Linked DNA regions of Homo sapiens: regions 2, 3, 4 and 5 are each linked to region 1. Evidence: promoter capture Hi-C in 16 types of primary human blood cells and fetal thymus (Javierre and others, 2016). All regions are on one chromosome and are shown on one strand. The core of a region is centred on a gene start or on the middle of the fragment in contact, and the rest is flanking DNA. Distances in the headings are between cores, read along the strand shown.

The links. The method cuts DNA at HindIII sites, captures the fragments that hold promoters and counts their contacts. A CHiCAGO score of 5 or more calls a contact.
Region 2: the fragment with the promoter of SRL here is called in contact with the fragment with the promoter of TRAP1 in region 1 in 2 of 17 cell types (neutrophils and naive CD8 T cells); the score reaches 6.5 in neutrophils.
Region 3: a contact is called between the fragment with the promoter of GLIS2 here and the fragment with the promoter of TRAP1 in region 1, in 1 of 17 cell types (M0 macrophages). The highest score is 6.0, in M0 macrophages.
Region 4: the fragment with the promoter of TFAP4 here is called in contact with the fragment with the promoter of TRAP1 in region 1 in 5 of 17 cell types (naive CD8 T cells, total B cells, M2 macrophages and 2 more); the score reaches 6.5 in naive CD8 T cells.
Region 5: a contact is called between the fragment with the promoter of VASN here and the fragment with the promoter of TRAP1 in region 1, in 2 of 17 cell types (naive B cells and neutrophils). The highest score is 6.9, in naive B cells.

The regions. Positions count from the first base shown.
Region 1 is chr16:3,716,013-3,719,724 of GRCh38, forward strand. TRAP1 (TNF receptor associated protein 1) reads right to left here and starts at 1,512. Exons shown (of 18, transcript NM_016292.3): 1 at 1,409-1,512. The coding sequence starts at 1,496. RefSeq lists silencers at 1,113-1,232, 1,253-1,862. The HindIII fragment of the contact is 13,336 bases long and covers 1-3,712 here.
Region 2 is chr16:4,239,937-4,243,451 of GRCh38, forward strand. SRL (sarcalumenin) reads right to left here and starts at 2,144. Exons shown (of 6, transcript NM_001098814.2): 1 at 2,071-2,144. The coding sequence starts at 2,131. The HindIII fragment of the contact is 10,843 bases long and covers 562-3,515 here.
Region 3 is chr16:4,314,066-4,317,430 of GRCh38, forward strand. It overlaps GLIS2 (GLIS family zinc finger 2), which reads left to right and starts at 2,002. Exons shown (of 7, transcript NM_032575.3): 1 at 2,002-2,189. RefSeq lists enhancers at 117-629, 630-1,142, 3,264-3,365 and a silencer at 543-837. The HindIII fragment of the contact is 6,668 bases long and covers 1-3,365 here.
Region 4 is chr16:4,271,326-4,274,710 of GRCh38, forward strand. TFAP4 (transcription factor AP-4) reads right to left here and starts at 1,698. Exons shown (of 7, transcript NM_003223.3): 1 at 1,333-1,698. The coding sequence starts at 1,421. RefSeq lists enhancers at 1-891, 433-622, 1,523-1,572, 1,869-2,844 and silencers at 703-862, 1,223-1,272, 1,993-2,642. The HindIII fragment of the contact is 8,835 bases long and covers 284-3,385 here.
Region 5 is chr16:4,370,101-4,373,656 of GRCh38, forward strand. It overlaps VASN (vasorin), which reads left to right and starts at 1,748. Exons shown (of 2, transcript NM_138440.3): 1 at 1,748-1,893. All of the region lies in intron 9 of CORO7-PAM16 (CORO7-PAM16 readthrough), which reads right to left. All of the region lies in intron 9 of CORO7 (coronin 7), which reads right to left. RefSeq lists an enhancer at 1,130-1,955. The HindIII fragment of the contact is 4,747 bases long and covers 1-3,556 here.

The DNA.
Region 1 (3,712 bases), core at 262-2,761:
CCACCACACCCAGCTAATTTTTGTATTTTTAGTAGAGACAGGGTTTCACCATGTTGGCCAGGCTGGTCTTGAACTCCTGATCTGCCCACCTCAGGCTCCCAAAGTGCTAGGATTACAGGCGTGAGCCACCGCGCCCGGCCACAAGGTATCTTTTATAGACCACTGGTTTTGAAAAGACATAAGATTCAGCGTTGAAGAAAATACCTTTGGAATAGGCAGTCTTGATGCCTGCTAAAGGGGATATAAATTGATAAGGCCTTTTTGGACAATTTGGCAGTATCTGCTAACATTTCAAAAATGCATAGGCTCTGAAATATCAATTCTAAAATTCTAATTATGTAAGGCTAAAGAAATACCGCACGTGAACAAATATTTAAGTACTCACCCATTCTATGCAGCATTGTAATAAAAAGTAAAACCTGAAATAACCTTTATTGCGTCCACTAATAGGACAATGTTTAAACAAATGACACGTCCATCATACAGAATACTGTGTGGTCACTGGAAGGCACATGGACCTGTATACACTGACATGAAAAGATGTGGAAAGAATGCTGGGAGCGTTAAAATTTTCTGAAGTACAACGTAGCACAATGCATACATGGTTTAGGCTTTTTAGAATAAAAAATACTTATACGCAGACATTTATATTTACACGTATAACACTGTGTACAGCCCCGAAGCAATGCCGAAACTTTCACTGTTGTTACCTCCGAGTGGGGACTGGGAAAGCAGAGGTTAGGGTCGTTCTCTCTGTTTTACAAACATTTATTGGCGCATCCATCAATTCCAGGCCCCGAGGACACAGCTGCGTCAACGACATCGAGTCCACCTGCTCTGGGGACCCGGATGACTGCTATAGGTTTTGTTCACTGTGGCGTCCCCAGAACCTGCACGGCGCCGGGCACTGAGCGGGCGCTCACATGTGCGTCCAATGAACGAATTAACAAATGAACCCTCAGTGCGCTACTGGGAGGCGGGGAGGGGTAAAGCACGATCCATGGAACTAGCACGATCACCCCGAGTGAGTCCATTCCCCGCAACATGCACCCGCAAAGACTCCGCGCTCCGCAGCGGCTCCACCTGCACGTGCGCTACCTGACTGGACCGAAGCTCCAGGAGGGACGACCCCGCAGCCGCTCCGCCCGACCCCGCGACCCCCCAAGACCCAGCCTCCTTCAGGGCTCCCATGGGCGGGTGGCGAGGGGAGTCCAGCCGAGGAAAAGGCAGCCAAGCTGGAGCTGGCGAGGAGCGGAGCGAAAGTAAACGCGTCTGCCGCGCTTGGCCTCGCCGGACCTCCCACGCCTGTGAAGCAGGTGCCGGCGCCTCGCTCCCCGGAGCACAGGGACGTCCCTGCCGTCTCCGTGGCCCGGCCCGCCCGCTGCCCGTCCAGCCAGGACGCCCTCACCTCCCGGCACGGCCGCCAGCGCCGGCGCCCGCAGCAAAGGCCGCAGGCGGCGGCCCCACAGCAGCAGCGCCCGCAGCTCGCGCGCCATGTCGTACTCCCAGAGCGCCGCGCGCAGCCACGCGGGACCGTACACGATGGGAAGGGGCGGGACGGGGCTGCGCGGGGCGGGGCTTCCTCGGGCGCGGGGCGGTGACGTCACGGCGGGCGCCGGGCTGTCCGGGCAGCTGCCTGCTCGGGCGCGTGGCGGGGTACTACCCGTCTCGTGGACGGTCGGGCCTGGGGGTGGGACCTCCGTGACCTTGGATCGCGTTGTCAAGGGCGACGGGCCTTGCGCGCGGAGGTGGGGGAGGTGGCCCCGCCGCCCCCGGCCCACGCTGGCCGGCTGCGCCTAGCTGTGCGCATTCCTGGAATGGGGCGGATGTCAGTATCCACGCGAGGGTGTGGAGGCGACGCTGGGGAAGAAGCAGTTCCCGTGTCTGCGACCTTTGTGAATCCCGGCCATCCGTCTAGGCCGCTGCAAGTCTCTTGCAAACCAAGACTGGACAAAAAGCTAAAGCGAATGAGGAAGGGGATTCCAGGCTTGACTGGCTACTACTCCAAAACCTGAACCCAGTGACCAATACCACCAGGAAAACTGCGGTTATTCGTTTATTCCACTTCTCTTGTCCTTGTCGAGAAGAGTCAAACTCTAAAGTATTTAGAAGGTTATTCTGAGCCAAATATGAGTGTGCATGGAGGGAGGCACAGTCTCAAAAGGTCCTGAGAACTTGGCCCAAGGTGCTTGGGTTACAGCTTGCTTGGTTTTATACATTTTAGAGAGACATAAGACATCAGTCAATGCATGTAAGACATAGGTTGGTTCCGTGTGGAAAGGCAGGACAACTCAAAGGGTGAAATACTTAGAGGTCATAGGTGGATTCAGATACTTTCTGATTGGCAATTGGTTAAAAGAGTTGAGTTCTGGTTGGGCGCGGTGGCTCACGCCTGTAATCCTAGCACTTTGGGAGGCTGAGGTGGGCGGACTGCCTGCGGTCAGGAGTCCGAGACCAGCCTGGCCAACATGGTGAAAACCCATCATCTCTACTAAGATACAAAAAATTAGCTGGGCAAGGTGGCACGTGCCTGTAGTCCCAGCTCCTGGGGAGGCTGAGGCGGAAGAATAGCGTGAACCCGGGAGGCTGCGGTTGCAGTGAGCCGAGATCGTGCCACTTGCACTGCAGCCTGGGCGACAGAGCTGTGACTCCGTCTCAAAAAAAAAAAAAAAAGAAAACAAAAAAAAGAAAAAAAAGAGTTGAGTTATACAGACCTGGAATCAATAAAAAGAGTGTCTGGGTGAAGATAAGGGGTTGTGGGCACGAGCACGGTGACTCACACCTGTAATCCCAACACTTTGGGATGCCGAGGTGGGCGAATTGCTTGAGGTCAGGAGTTGGAGAGCAGCGTGGGCAACATGGTGAGACCCTGTCTGTACCAAACATACCTGTACCGGATGTGGTGGCGGAGGCCTGTAATCCCAGCTACAAGGGAGGCTGAGGTGGGTGGATTGCTTAAGCCCAGGAGGGAGAGGTTGCAGTGAGCCAAGTTCGTGCCATTGAACTCCAGCTTGGGCAAGAGAGCCACACCCTGTCTCAAAACAAACAAACAAACAAACAAACAAAAAACAGGTTGTGAAGACCAAGGTTCTTATTATGTAGAGGAAGTCTCATAGATGACCACCCTTACAGGTAATAGATGGCAAATGTTTTCGCAAATATTGTTTATTCAGACCGTTAAAAATTCCTAGACCCTCAGGATCAGGAAAAGACCTGCAAAGGTGGCCTGGCATGGTGGCTTACGCATGTAATTCCAGCACTTTAGGAGGCCAAGGTGGTCTTATCACTTGAGGTCAGGAGGTTGAGACCAGCCTGGTCGGCATGGCAAAACCCCATCTCTACTAAAAATACAAAAATTAGGCCAAGAGCAGTGGCTCACGCCTGTAATCCTAGCACTTTGGGAGGCTGAGGCGGGCAGATCACCTGAGGTCGGGAGTTCGAGACCAGCGTGACTGACAGGGAGAAACTCCGTCTCTACTAAAAATACAAAAAATCAGTCAGGCGTGGTGGCGCATGCCTGTAATCCCAGCTACGCAGGAGGTTAAGGCAGGAGAATCGCTGGAACCCAGGAGGTGAAGGTTGCAGTGAGCTGATACCGCACCATTGCACTCCAGCCTGGGCAACAAGAGTGAAAGTCTGTCTCAAAAACAAAAAAAATTACCTGGGTGTGGTGGTGTGCACCTGTGTACAGCTGAGGCTACTCGGGAGGCTG
Region 2 (3,515 bases), core at 894-3,393, 520 kb after region 1:
CGGGTAAGGCCCCACCTGGCTGCTCCTTCCCCGTCCTGGCATGGGCACGGGCGACGGGTGGTTGGTAACAGAGGGGCGCTTGTCTCCTCACAGGGAGGCGAGAAGGAGGGCTGCAGAGCCCACCACCCCAGCCAGAGCTGCACACGAGCAACAAGGAGGAGAAGCCGGAGGAGAAGCTCTGTGGGGTCCCTGGCCTAGGAAGCAGATGGGAGTGGTGAGCGAGAATATCTGCCGCCACCCAGCCAAGGAGCAAGCATGATAGGGAGGGAAGTTAGCACACAGCGGAGAGATGAGGGAAAGAGGTCAGGAGCCAAGATGTGACCTTTGGGTGGGGTGGTATTTACCGGGGTGGCACAATTCTGAAGGGGAAATCACCCAGTAGGAAGGACTGTCATGATGGGGGCGTGAGGAAGCCACCTTGTGGGTTAGAACCTGCCGGTGGATGCAGGAGGAGGCCTATTCTGGGGTATACAGTCCACAGTGGGGCAGAGTCCTGATAAAATCCACCACAGTGGATGAAACCCACAGCCCAAGTGCTGAGCAGGAGCAGGGACAGAGGGAAGCTTTACGCCGGAGGTTGGGCCAGGGGCAGACGCACGCTGTGGGACCCAGGAAGGAAAGACAGCAGAGAGAAGGGACCTTTGCACAAGCACCTGCCTGCGTCCTTTCCCCACGACAAGAGCCCCCAGCGAGGCCTGCAGAACATTCCAGATGACCAGTTCCCTCGGTGGGAGGAAAGATAAAGGATGTCCCTAAAAGGCCAAAAATTCCTGGGGCCCAGTGTGTAGCAGCCCAGCAGCTGGGGCTGGGGGGCAGCACAGGAGCGGCCACGAAGGGAGAGGGTGGCAGCGGCTTGGGGCTCCGGATCCAATTACGCGGCTGTTTCCATACTTAGCCGCCTGACAGCCGCCTGGAATACTCAGCACTCAAGCCGCTGCAGCCCTGCAGAGCCCAAATTAACTCAAGGACAGACAAGGGCAGGGCCCAGCAGCACATGCAGTGGCTGGAGCCCCCCACCTTACATCTTGAGTCCCCGAGAAATAGCTTTTGTTCCCACCCACTGCCTGCTCTCCCTGCAGGGACTGTGCCCCTGCAACCCCCTATTCAACCTCAAAGACCTGAGAGGCTGGACTCTGGGCCTCTCCAGTCCCAGGTACGGACCTAGGCTCAGAGCCCAGCTTGGGGGAAGACTGCCGAGTCATGAAAAGACTCGGTGGGCAGTCCGGATCCTAGGGGGATCCCCGGAGCACCTCCCTAAAAGCATTCCCTCGGGGAACCTGGCCTCAGGAACCTTAGGAACAAGAGAGGTGGCAAAACAATCTGGCATCTCCTCCATAGCCTATAGATAACCCCCATGCTGCAACCCAAGCCACCACCTCTGCTACCCAAAGTGCTGAGATGTCAAAGGGAAGCCTCAGCACACAGAGCCAAGCCCCTTTTCTGATGGAAGCCCCCACCCCGAGCAGAGGCTCTACTCCAGAACGGGCCCCGTTCCTCTTCTGAATTGCATCCAATGCTGTTTCCAGCCCAACCGCCAACTCTATTTCCGATCTTATCCCAAACCAATTCCAATTCTATCTCACTGCTCCCAAAACGGTCCCCACCTTTGCCCACTGTATCCCCTTCTGTCCACGCAAACCCAGTTCTCTTACCCGAGTGGGGCCTCCGCCTTATATCCCACCAGGTGGGAGGGTCACCTCAACGACCTCCAGCTCCCAGACTGTGCTATTTTGTCCGTCTCAGAGGCTCCCCCGTCTCGACTTTGAGGGCCCTCTTTCCCACATCTACTGGCCAGACTCCTCTCTGACCCTGGCTCACAGCTCAGCTCTGTTTGCCGTTCCCACTTCCTCTGGCCTTCCTGAGGGCCCCGCAACTGTGCTGCTATTCTCCAGCACCCAGCTCTTTCTCTGAGGCCCCAGGCCCGGGGAAAAGAGAAGGGTAAGAAGACACCAGCCAAGAGCCAGGGTTTGCCATCAGCCCCGACCCCCTACCCAACCCATGGTAGACAGAAAACCTTGGAGGAAGCGTGGGGGACCAGTCTGGGCTGGGTCATGCTGGGAGGGGCCCTACCTGCTTGTCCTGAGAACAGGAGCGAGGCCAGGAGGCAGCCGAGCAGGACCAGCGCCCTCATGGTGACTGCCAAGAGAGCCCAGCTGCTCCTCGCCTCTATTTATACGGCCGGCCGTGGCAGCAGGCGGTGGAGGGGGGAGAGGGGTCACACAGTCACCAGGGCAACTAGGAGGGTGTGATGGGGAAGAAGCCCGGACCCCAGAAGGCTGTGCAGAGGCTCAGGCTGCGCCACTGCTGTCCCAGCTGCCAGGCCCCAGAAGGCAGGGCCGTGGCTGGATTCTCTTCCCCCGAACCCCTGCAGCCCTGGGATCACATGACATGGGTCACAGGGCGTGGGTGACAGGCATAAAATGGAGCATCCCTTGGGCTCAGGCGGTGGAGCTGGGAAGCTGAGTCTTCCCAGAACTTGCAATAACTTGACCTGAAGTCTCGGCAGGTTAAGGACCTTGACACGCCTGCACTGGAAGGAGGAAGTTGTAAGGCCACGCAAAAGAAATCCTATTTAACAGCCACTGATCCACATGCTAGAGAGTGGTCAGCTACGGCAAACCCGCAACATGTGACCTCTGAGGTCCAAGGCTGCAGCCCTGGAACAACCTTCCCAGCCTCTGGAAGAGAGAGAGCACAGACCAGAGGGAGAGGGGCACACTGAGACACAAGCTGAGGCTACGGTGTAAACTGGAGGATGGAGCAACAGATATCCATTTCCAATGGCCCAGGGGTTCCAGAACATTCAGTCACCTCTGCAAAGTGCTTTTTTGTTTATTTGTTTTTGATAGAGGATCTCGCTCTGTCACCCAGGCTGGACTGCAGTGGCACAATCATCACTCACTGCACTCGACCTCCCAGGCTCAATCAATCCTCCCAACTCAGCCTCCCAAGTAGCTAGGACAGTAGTGCCACCATGCTGTACTAATTTTTTAAAATTTTTTGTAGATGGCCCAGAGAGCCAGTTGTAAGAAGCCAAGGGAAAGCAGACACTTGCTTGTCTGGTCGGGGTACAGTGTCACTGTGTGGGGAAGAGGTAGAAGCCAGCCTTGGAGGAAAGGAACTAAATCAGGGCCAGGCACAGTGGCTCACACCTGTAATCCCAGCACTTTGGGAGGCCGAGGCGGGTGGATCACCTGAGGTCAGGAGATTGAGACCAGCCTGGCCAACATGGTGAAACCCCATCTCCACTAAAAATACAAAAATTACTGGGTGTGGTGGCGGGTGCCTATAATCCCAGCTCCTCAGGAGGCTGAGGCAGGAGAATCACTTGATCCCAGGAGGCGAAGGTTGCCATGAGCCAAGATTGCACCACTGACTCTAGCCTGGGCAACAGAGCGAGACTCTGTCTCAAAAAAAAAAAAAAAAAAAAAAAGAATTAGGCATCTGGTAGGCACTTGACTTTTTTTTTTTTTTTAATCTTTTTTAAGAGACAGGGTCTCTGTCACCCTGGCTGG
Region 3 (3,365 bases), core at 752-3,251, 600 kb after region 1:
GGCCCTTAATAGCCCCCTCCTGGAAGCGCTAGGTCCCGAAACTGGCCTTCCCCCGGGGCCCATCTCCCGGCTAATGTTTAACCCGGCCACACTCCACATTATCCACACTCAGGAGACCGGGGTGAGGTGAGGGTGGAGGCTGGGGGAGGTCACCTCCAAATCGCCAACTTCCGAGCCTTTGCTCCAGGCAAACGGCCTTCCTACATCCCTTCCAGGTATCAACCTACAGCTCCTGCGCACCTACTATGTGCCCATTTCCACAACAGGTCATGAGCACCTAATATGTGTTCATTAGACCAAAACATGAGCATCCATTACGAGTCCACACCTACTATGTGTGCATTCACCCACAACGTCCTGAGCACCTACTATGTGTGCATTCTCTTAAAATGCAATGAGCATCGATTGTGTGTCCACATAACCCATGAGCACCTGCTATGTGTCCATCTGGGCACCAGCCCATGAGCACCTACTATGTGTGCATTCTCTTAAAATGCAATGAGCATCGATTGTGTGTCCACATAACCCATGAGCACCTGCTATGTGTCCATCTGGGCACCAGCCCAGGAGCACCTACTATGTGCCAAGCCTTGTGCCTGCCATGGATGCCTTGTGATCAAGAGCCACGTGCTTCGGGCTCTGGCGGGGACCGCAGCATCAAATGCACGAATGAAGACGGACTTAAAACCAGCGTCAGATGCCTCACCTCTAGGGGATGCTGATTCTGGGATGCCTTTTTCGTCTCCTAGGCTCCTCAAGGCCAACTGCGCTGGGAAGAGGGGGTGTCCAACAGCAGGAGGGCTGTTTTTTTGAACTACAATTTGCCAGCATACAGCAGAGCAGCAAGAAGATAACAGGGCGGGGGGCACGGGATTAGCCCAAACAAAACACACTCAAGAACGCGAGTCTGTGGTTCAACACGAGGCAGAAAACAGCTGGGCCGGGTGCGGGGCTTCTCCCTCGCGTGTATCCGCTCACTGCACTCGCTGCCCTGGCCGCGGGCGCCGCGCAGGGTGCTGATGTCCAGGAGGGATCTAGACCTCCCGCGGCGCTCGGGCTAGTGGACGCAGGTGGTCCCAAATGCTGGGACCAAGCTAGGAACCAAGCGGAAGCTCGGATTGCTCGGCATCGGGCCTCGTCGTTATTCTACCGTGAGGGAAACTGAGACCGAGGGCACGGCAGGGAGTCGCCCGCCGTCTCACCAGCGTGAGGGGTTGCGCCGGGCCCCGAAAACTGGTTTGCGCCGCCCGGCATCGGGATCCGGGACCTCTGCCCGCCGGGCGCTGCCTGCGCGTTCCTGGAACTGGGCTGGGCGGAGAAATCAGGGCCCGCAGAGAGGCATTCCTGCCGCCTTCCCCGCCGCCCGGGGCCGCAGGGGGGCCTGGCCAAGGTGACCCCGCGGGAGGAGGCGAGGGGTCCCCGCCCGCTCCGCCGCCGCGACCTCCTCCATCTTCCCGGTCTGCGGGGCTTTTCCTCTGGGCCCGCGCGCCCGGCCCCCTCCTCGGGCTTCCCCGAGGGCGGGACGTCTCGGGCTCCCCCGCCCCCCCAGGCCACCTCCCGGCCGTGTCCTAGCGCTGCCCTCGGGCCGGGGGCGGGGCCGCGGGGGGGGGGTGGCGTGAGGATGGGGCCGAGGAGGACGCGCGCGGCTCGGCGCCCCACTTCCCTCCCTCACCCCTCCCTCCCGGTGCCCGCTCCCCGCGGCCGCGCCGCCCTCCCTTCCCCCTCCCTCGGCCCAGCGCCGGCTCCCGCCGCCCCCTCCCCCGACGCGCACGCCCCGCCTGGCAGCTGGCGCCCCGGGCCTGGGGCCGCAGCGGTGAGAGGGGTTTTGCTGGGAGGGAGGGAGCGAGCGAGCGAGGGGAGGGGTGGAGGCCGCCCCCCGCGCCCCTCCTCCTCGCCCTCCTCCGCGGCCGGCGGGCCCTCCTCCCGCCGCCTCCCTCCTCCCTCCTCCCGCCCGCCCGCCCTCCCTCTAAGACATCCCCGCACGGCCCGGCCGCCGCGGCCACCTTCCCTGCCCGAGCTGCAGATGTGGCGGAGCGGCCGGGCGCCGGGCGGCCGTGCCAGGGGAGCCCGCGCCCCGTGAGGCCTCGCGCCCCGGCCCCCGCCCGTCCCGGCCCCTCCCCCGCTCGGCTCCCCGCGCCCCCCGACCGCCGGAGCCCGCAGCCCGGATCCCGACCGCCCCCGCCGCTGAGGTAGGAAGCCCCCCGGGCGTCGCGCCGTGGGGACCGGGCCGGGGCGGGGGGGGGGGGGCCCGCCTGTCGCGCCGGGGCTGCGGGGCCCGAGGGTCTCCTCCCCCGCTCGCGTCCGCGCCCCGGGCCATTGTGAGCCCTCGCCGAGGCCCCCGCGTTCGCTCGCTCGCTGGCTCGCGCGCTCCCTCCCTCGCCGGCTCCCCGGCCGGGTCCCTCGAGCTCTCGGTCTTTCTTCTCCCTCCTTCCTTCCCTCCGTCTGGAGGCCGGGCCGAGCAGCGCCCGGGCCCGGGGCGGGCGCAAACTTCAGCTGGGAAGTTGGGCGGCCGCGGTGGGGGGCGTGCGGCGAGGTGAGAGGGGGGTACCCGGAGCCTGGGCATGAAGTTGTCCGGGGCAGCCGCCCCTCCTCTCGGCCGCGCCGGGGCTGCTGCTAGGAAGGGCTTTGGAAGGTGCCTCCTCCCTTGGCCGGGAGAGTCTCCCTCCTGCTGCCCCTCGCAAGCCCGGGTCCTTCCTTGGACCTCGGGAAGGGGCGTCCCTGGGGGGTCAGGACTGGGAGTTTGGGACAAGTCAGGCACTTGTTACTCCCCTGCGGTCCGGGTGGACGCAGGCGACCGGCCTGGCAGGGAGGAGATGGCAAGGGGTCCATACTCGCCGGAGGGCGGGTCTGGAGCGGGTGGAGGAGGGGGCGAGGCAGGTGCATCCCGAGGGAGGAGAAGCACGCACAGCTTCCCCGCTGGCCCCCTGGGATGGGGCTGGAATCCAGGCTGGCACCTGGAGGCCTTGGCATGCTGCCCTGCCCAGCAGGGTACTCGGGCCACAGCAGGGCAGCGTGCAGCCTGTCTGCCTGTCCAGGAGGGCCCGCCCAGCCTGGCCAGAGGGTGGCCGGGAAGCAATGGTTTCAAGGAGTTGCCCAGCCCTGCCCTGGGGCCTGGGAAGCTGGAAGGGATGCTGGGAGGGGCCCTGGGCCCCCAGCCATCACAGCCCAGGATCTTGGCTCTGGAGGGAACGCTTGACACTGAGGGGGCAGCCAGGCCGGCTGGGGACCTGGCCAAGGCCTGGGCTTGGTCTGGGCCATGGAAAGGGCCTGGGCCATGGTTCTTGGAGGCTGGCACCCTGGGTAGTAGGCCGCCATCCTGCGTGTCCTGGCATCCTGGAGGGAAGGTGGGGCCAGCCTGCGGCTGG
Region 4 (3,385 bases), core at 448-2,947, 560 kb after region 1:
GCCCAGACTGCCTCGGGCGGCAGAGCACGTGGCTCCAGCCCTGGGGAGCCATTTCGCTCCTGGAGCAGCGCGGCAGGAAAGGGGCCACAGGTCCCAAACTTGCGCACGCCGTAGAACGCCCACCTCCCCCACACCACGCCCAGGGGGTCGTTCAAAATGCAGATGTCCGGGCCCCAGCGATCAGAGTTCCAGGCATGTGCATTTTAAGAAGTGTGCGGGGTGGTTTGGCTGTGTGTGGTCCTTGAGTCCATCACCCTTTGGGTTTAGAGCAACCTAGGACCAAAGCTTGCAAAGTGGCTTCTGGGGAGGCCTGCGGACCTCGGGCCACCCACCCGGCTGGGGGACCCGACGCTTTCGGTTTACGGCAGGGGGGAGGGGCGTTGGATGGGAAAGTTTGCAGAGGAAACCCACGTGCGGCGGGAAGCTGCCCTGCGAGGCTAGGGGCGGCCTCAGGTGTCCCTTCCCCAAATGGCCTGCCCACCTGGCCTGCCTTGCCCATCGTGCCCGCGGGGGCCGAGCTTTGTGCAGGGAAAGCGTGGCCCAGGAGCGCCTACAAATCCCACAATGCTGCACCAGCAGGACACGGAGAACTACAGCTCCCGCGAGGCCGCGCGCAGAGGTCCGCCTACTCCAAGAGGGCTGCAGAGTCACGTCCAGGCCTCGCTAGTAAACAGCGCCCGGGCGCGGGCGGGCGAGCGAGCGGCAGCCAACGTGCCCCGGGCCGCGGCGCCCCTACCGGCCGCGCGGGCCCCTCGGGGTCCGCCCACCCCCAACACCCACACGCGAGCACGCCCCCGACCCCGCTGCAGCCCCGCTCTGCAAACACGCACAGTGCCCGGCTCCCCGCCCCCACCCCGCGCCGGGAGCCGCGGCATGGCTGCATTGTAGCCGCCCTAGCTACACCCCCACGCGCGCCCCGGGCCCCCAGACCCCCTTGGATGGGGACGACCTCAGATCCCGAGGAAGGAAGGAGAGGAAGGAAGCCGCCGCAGGAGGGGGAAAGAGGAAGCGCGGGGGGGAAGGCCACCAGCACCAAGCATGGCCGGGACTGCTGCAGAACCACGTGGGTCTGTTTGCAATTTACAAACGTCGCGACTCGCCCGCCTGCAGCGGACAAAAGTGGCCGGGGCCGCTTGGGGCCCCCATGCTCCAAGGAAGGAGGGTCCCGGGGCGGCGCGGACCCGGCGTGTGGGGCTGCAGCCGTCCCGGCAGCTAAGAAAGGCTAGCGGGGTCGGCGGCGCGGGCCATGCGTGCGCACACGCGCGCCCGCCCGGGCGGGCTGGCCGGGGGCTGCAGTGGTAGGAAGGGGGTGGGGGGAGGAGGAGTACACACCTACAGAGCCCTCCTATCACTTCTTTCTCTGTTTTCCTGAAATGTTGCAAAGAGGGCACCTTCTGAGTGGGCACCATGAAATACTCCATAGCGATCGGCCCCCCTCCTCTGCACGAGCCAGGTCCCGCGATCAGCCGGAGAATGCAAGATGGAAATCCGAATCAAAGGGCAGCGCCGGACGGAGGTGCAGAATCGGCCGGTCCCAGATGCTGGCGGCGGCGGCGGCGGCGAGGGGAGGGAGGCGGGCGGGAGGGGCGGGAGGGAGGTCTCTCCGGCCTGCCTCCCCGGGCGTGTGTATGTGTGTGTGTGTGTGTGTGTGTGTGTGTGTGTGTGTGTGTGTGTGTGTTTGCAGCTGATCAGATGTCTGTTTCAAGGCGGGAAACAGCTGGTGAAAACTCAGCACTCCCCCGGCCTCCTTCCGCGGAGTAAGGAATTGCATGTAAACAAAGGACTATTTGCAGCGCCCCCCGGGCGGCGCGAGGCCGGGGCGAGAGGGGCGCGGGCCCCCGGGGACCGGCTGCAACCGGGGTCTGCAGGCCTCTCGCGGGGCGCAGGGGGCCGGGGGCCGCGGGCGGGCTTGCGGGGCGCGGCGTGAATGGAGCGAGCTGCGGCCGAGCTACATGCGCCACTATGGGTGATGAGGTCCATCAGCTGACAGGTTGGCAAGCGTTGCAAAAAAAAAAAAAAAAAGGCCAGCCACCGCGCAGGGAGCCCAGCCCGTGCAGCCCGGAGTCCAGCAGCGACTGGCCCAGAGCAGGGTCCGCGCGCTCGGCCGGCCCGCAGGGAGGAGGGGGCGCGGCTGGGTCGGGCGTGCAGCGGCAGCAAGGAAGGCGGCCTGGGGTTCGCGCTTGGGGCTTCTGCTTTTTCACCATTGCAGCTGCACGGAGCGGAGCCTCTCCGGTGTGCTCCCTTCGAGCCGAGCCCAGGGCCCCCTGGAAACTTGCGTCACAGCCACCGCTTCCCACATGTAACTCGGGGCTGACTTCGGAGGCCGGCCAGCTTCCTCCCTCCCGCCTTGCTTAGCTGGCCGCACGGCCGGGACTCCGGATCCTGGGAATCTTGGACCCGGCGACGGGACGGCAAAGGGCGCCTCGGATGCTGGGGCCGCCCTAGGAAGCCGGGGGCCCCGGCAGGGAGGGGAGGGTGGAGGCGGGCCTGAACGGCAGCGGCCCCCGGGCGCAGGCTGCCAGCGCTGCGGGGAGGTCTGCTGGTTGCTGCCGGGTCCCCTGCTATTCCCCCAGACCCGCACTGTTCCCTCCGCGGGCTGAAGGCTGCAGCTTCCCATTCATAACAAAGCCCGTGTGGGACTTGCCCCTCCGCCAGGATGCGCTCCCCAAGAGGGGGTGACGACTTGGGGCAGGGACGGGGACCCTGGCGGCGAGCTTCCGTCCTCCGCTCGCACGCCGCACCTTCCGGCCCCAGGCCCTCCCCTGGCTCCTGGAGGGTTGGCTCCTGGCTCAGGAAGCCCACGCCTGCCTTGGAATGTCCTGGATCCTGCCCACCGCCTTCCAGGTTCCGCCTAAATCGCGCCTCCTAATTTGACTTATTCCTACTAGTAACAATAGTTACTGTTATTATTGGGAAATATTGTTATTAGATGTTGCCAGCACCCGGTGGATGCCGAGCAGTTTTGCTTACACGCTCTCCAATCCTTGAAGCAACCTGTTAGGCAGTTTCTCTAAGGAGAGATCCCAGACCACTTGACCAAAAAAAAGTCTCTGGAAGGCTTACTATGTTTCTACTTAAAAAAAAAAAAAAAAAAAAAAAACTTTCGGCTGGGCGCGTTGGCTCACGCCTGTAATCTCAGCACTTTGGGAGGCTGAGGCGGGTGGATCACCTGAGGTCGGGAGTTCGAGACCAGCCTGACCAACATGGAGAAACCCCGTCTCTACTAAAAATGCAAAATTAGCCGGGGGCCTGGTGGCACATGCCTGTAATCTCAGCTACTCGGGAGGCTGAAGCAGGAGAATCGCTTGAACCCGGGAGGTGGAGGTTGCAGTGAGCCAAGATCATGTCATTGCACTCCAGCCTGGGCAACAAGAGTGAAACTCCG
Region 5 (3,556 bases), core at 498-2,997, 650 kb after region 1:
GACATCAGGAGGTCCTGTTCCTTGAGGAAAGCCAGGCTGGAGGCTCTTGGAGCCCTCTTTACCCCTGACCCTGGGCATCTGTGGATGCTTCTGAGGGCTTCAGAGGACACAGGGCCAAGGGAAGAGGCAGGGAAACAGTCCGACAAGAGGCTGCACAGCACTGATTGGAAACTCAGATGGTTCTGGGGCCGGGCAGGAAACTCAAGTGAGTGGACAGCTTGGCAGGAGGCAGCAGGGAGTGGTGGGGACTGGGGTGACCCATGAGCCCACATTTTGGCAGAGGGAGCAACCGCCACTCAGCCCCAGCTGAGAGTTCCTGTTCAATGCAAGCTGGGAAGCCCCATTTTAATATGAAACCACCTGATTTTTCAATGTTAGCAGTGCCTTCAAAGTTGTAAAAACTCCCATAAAGCCTGCACTAAATGCACCCAAAGGCCAGCCCCAACCCAGGAACAGAGGTCCGCAAGCCATGCCCTAATCCATGTAGACCGAGAAACGTATGGGTTGTGGAGCCCTGCCAGCCCTGGAAAGGGGCCCTGTGGGGAGAGGGCCCTGTGGACGGGAGGTCCAGAAGGTGACTGTCCCAGCCAGGCCCTGCTTAGCCCTTGACGGCTAGACACAGAGGCCATCCTGCCTTCTGGAGATAACTGAGTCCTCCAGAGACTAGGAAACCCTCCAGCTGGTGTGGCCCAGCCTCCCAGGGATAAGCCTTCAGGCCCCCCAAAGACTAGAGCTAGCCCAGCCAAGGGCCTTGGCTACAGGCCGGGCTGGAGGGGGTGTGGGTGTCCCAAGGCTCTCCGGAAGTCAGGAGCTGAGCTGGGCCCCCAAAGGCTCTGAGGCATGACTGACCACAAACGCGGAGGGGGAGGAGGGCAGAGTGTTTTCCTGGAATCCTCCAAGGCAGGGGATTTTTCTGGACTAGTCCGGCCCCTGGCACCCGCCCCTCCTGCCCAATCAAGGGCCACTGTCAACTGCAGCCCAGGCCCCACCCACCGACGGTGACCACCCCTATGCCTCCACAGCTCAGGCTTGAAGCTGCCAGTAACTGTGGGGCCGTGGGCAGACCACCACTGCCCTCCCTGACACAGCCCCTTCATCTCATAATATGGTGGGGAAGAGAGTCCAGGGCTGCTCACAACTCTTAAGGCTGTCGTGGCTAAGAGGACCCTGAGCTCAGATTTGGCATTGGAGTTTATACTTAGGAGGCTCTTGAAAGGGCTTTGTGTGGGCTGCCAGGAGTTTTTTGAAATTGGGATTAGCTACCAACAATAACACATTGAGAGATTTCACCTAAAAATCTGGATTTCCAGTTTCTCTTCAAAAATCCAAAGCTCTAGCTGGCCCGGGCTGGTCATGAGGACTCAGCCCTTACCAGCCCCACTCCCGCCATCCTGCCTCTCCAGGGCCGCAGAGGCCCTGGGGTGGACTTCTGGCATTTGTCACCTGCCTGGTGCCTCATAGGCATCTGGGCTGTGACGCTTAGGATTCCTAAATAGTCTCTCGCTTTTTACACAAAAAGCAGAAACCTGCCCAGTGTCATCCGGCAAACCCACGACGGGCAAGGTCTCCCCGCGCAGGTCAGGTGGCCGCAGGGTGAGGGCCAGGGCAACCCGGCCCACGAGCCCCTCGGTGGGGAAGGGGCGTGTCTCCACGCGGCTCCGCCCCGGCCAATGGGGAGAGGCCCCGCCCCTGCCGCGGCGGGCCCGCCCCCCGGGACTCTTAAGGCGCGACCTGCCTCCAGCGAGCCGACTCCGGAGCCCGAGCCCGGGGCGGGTGGACGCGGACTCGAACGCAGTTGCTTCGGGACCCAGGACCCCCTCGGGCCCGACCCGCCAGGAAAGACTGAGGCCGCGGCCTGCCCCGCCCGGCTCCCTGCGCCGCCGCCGCCTCCCGGTGAGTTTCTGTGGGGCTGGGGGGCTGCGGGCGGGGAAGGGGGCGCCACGGCCAGGCTGTGCACACGCGCGGGGACCGCCGCCGCGCGCACACACGCACTCTCGGGCGGGACCGCGGCCCCAGCCCCACACGGTCACCTGGGCCGCCCGGCGGGCAGGCCCTGTACGCTCCCTCCCCCGCCGTCCTGGGGCGCCGACAGCCCCGCGGCCGGCCAGGGTGCGCGCCTGAGTGTGCGGTGAGCCCGCGAGGCTGCAAGCAGACAAAATAAACACCCCGTCCCATGCTTCCTCCTCCCACGGCTGGGCCTCCGGCATGACCAGTTTTATGAATCAAACCCCTTTGAGGGGGATAGCCAAGCCACAGGCTTGGGTCACTTTTCCCTCCTGGGGTCCGGCAGTAGGTGCTGCTGTGCAGAAGGGCTGCCCGGGGTCCTCTGGACCCTTGTCACTCAAAGCACAGCTGGGGGCTACAGATATGCAGCCCTAGGGAGGGGCGGGGAGTGGCTGGTGGGCGTCCGATGCCCATCCCTCCAGGTGGGGGATGGACCTGTACTGGCCAGGGCCCTTAGAGCTTCGGGTATCAGGCAGGGTGCCGGGTCTCTGCCTCTGCCAGGGAAGGGGCTTTGCTTGGGCTGCAAACCCAGTGGCCTGGAGCCAGCCTAGTCCTTTGTGTCCCTGGGCTGGCAGTGCTGGGGCCTGAGGACTGCTGAGGTCCCCTGTGGTCACTGGCAGGCCAGCCGATTGGTGCCAACCATTCTGCCTCTCCCCCATTCGTTAACGATTGCCACACCAGGGTCACTGACCGCCTCCCCTGCTGTGGCCCAGGGGTGGAGTGTGCAGGGTGGAAGGAAGAGGTCCTGGGGGTCTAGGTGTCCCCATGCCTGCCTTTTGCACCAAGGACAGGTGAGGCTCTGGAGAGAGGCAGCGGGACCTAGAGCCCCCTTCCCCAGGCTGAGAGCCTCCAGGGCTGGGGATTGGATAAAATCTCCAAGGTCCCTTCACACTAGACTGTACTTTGGGTGTTGAGGGCATAGAGGGGTGGCCGGGCTGGGACCTTCCAAGCAGGGTCCATTAGGGCCAGTCCAGGGGGCAGCAAAGTCCAGGATGGGCCCAGCTATTGACAAAAACCCAACAGAGCTGGGGCAGGCGGGTGGGGGATGGGGAGCAGTCCCCTGAGTTTACTCTCTTCTCCCAGGGGAGTTGGCCTGGAGCTTCTGTAAACAGAGTGTCAGAGGCAGGAAGAGGCTCTGGTGATGAGCAGCCCAGCTGGATCCCCTCCAGACCATTATCTAGCCTCCCCTGGGCCTGGGGAGGGAGGATGCGCACACACATGCCAGCCTGGGGGCCGGGCACTGCCTGTCCCCACCCCGCCCCTGTCTCCTGCACGTTGGAACAGCTGTCCTGCTACCTGTGGGTCCGGAGGGTCAGATGGGGATGGGGCTGGGGGCTGGGGTCCCAGGGCATTTGTCCAGATGGCACCTCTCTCTCCATATTCTGGGAATGGGAGAATGGGATTCAGCATAAGGAGCCTCTCAGACACTGCCCAGACCTGTGCTTACCCGAGGAAGGCCCCTCTGGCACGCAGCCCAGGGGCCAGGGAGATGGCAAGGGAGATGCCCCGGGCAGGAGATGGGTCCGCGGCTCCTAGCTCCCATTACTGTCAC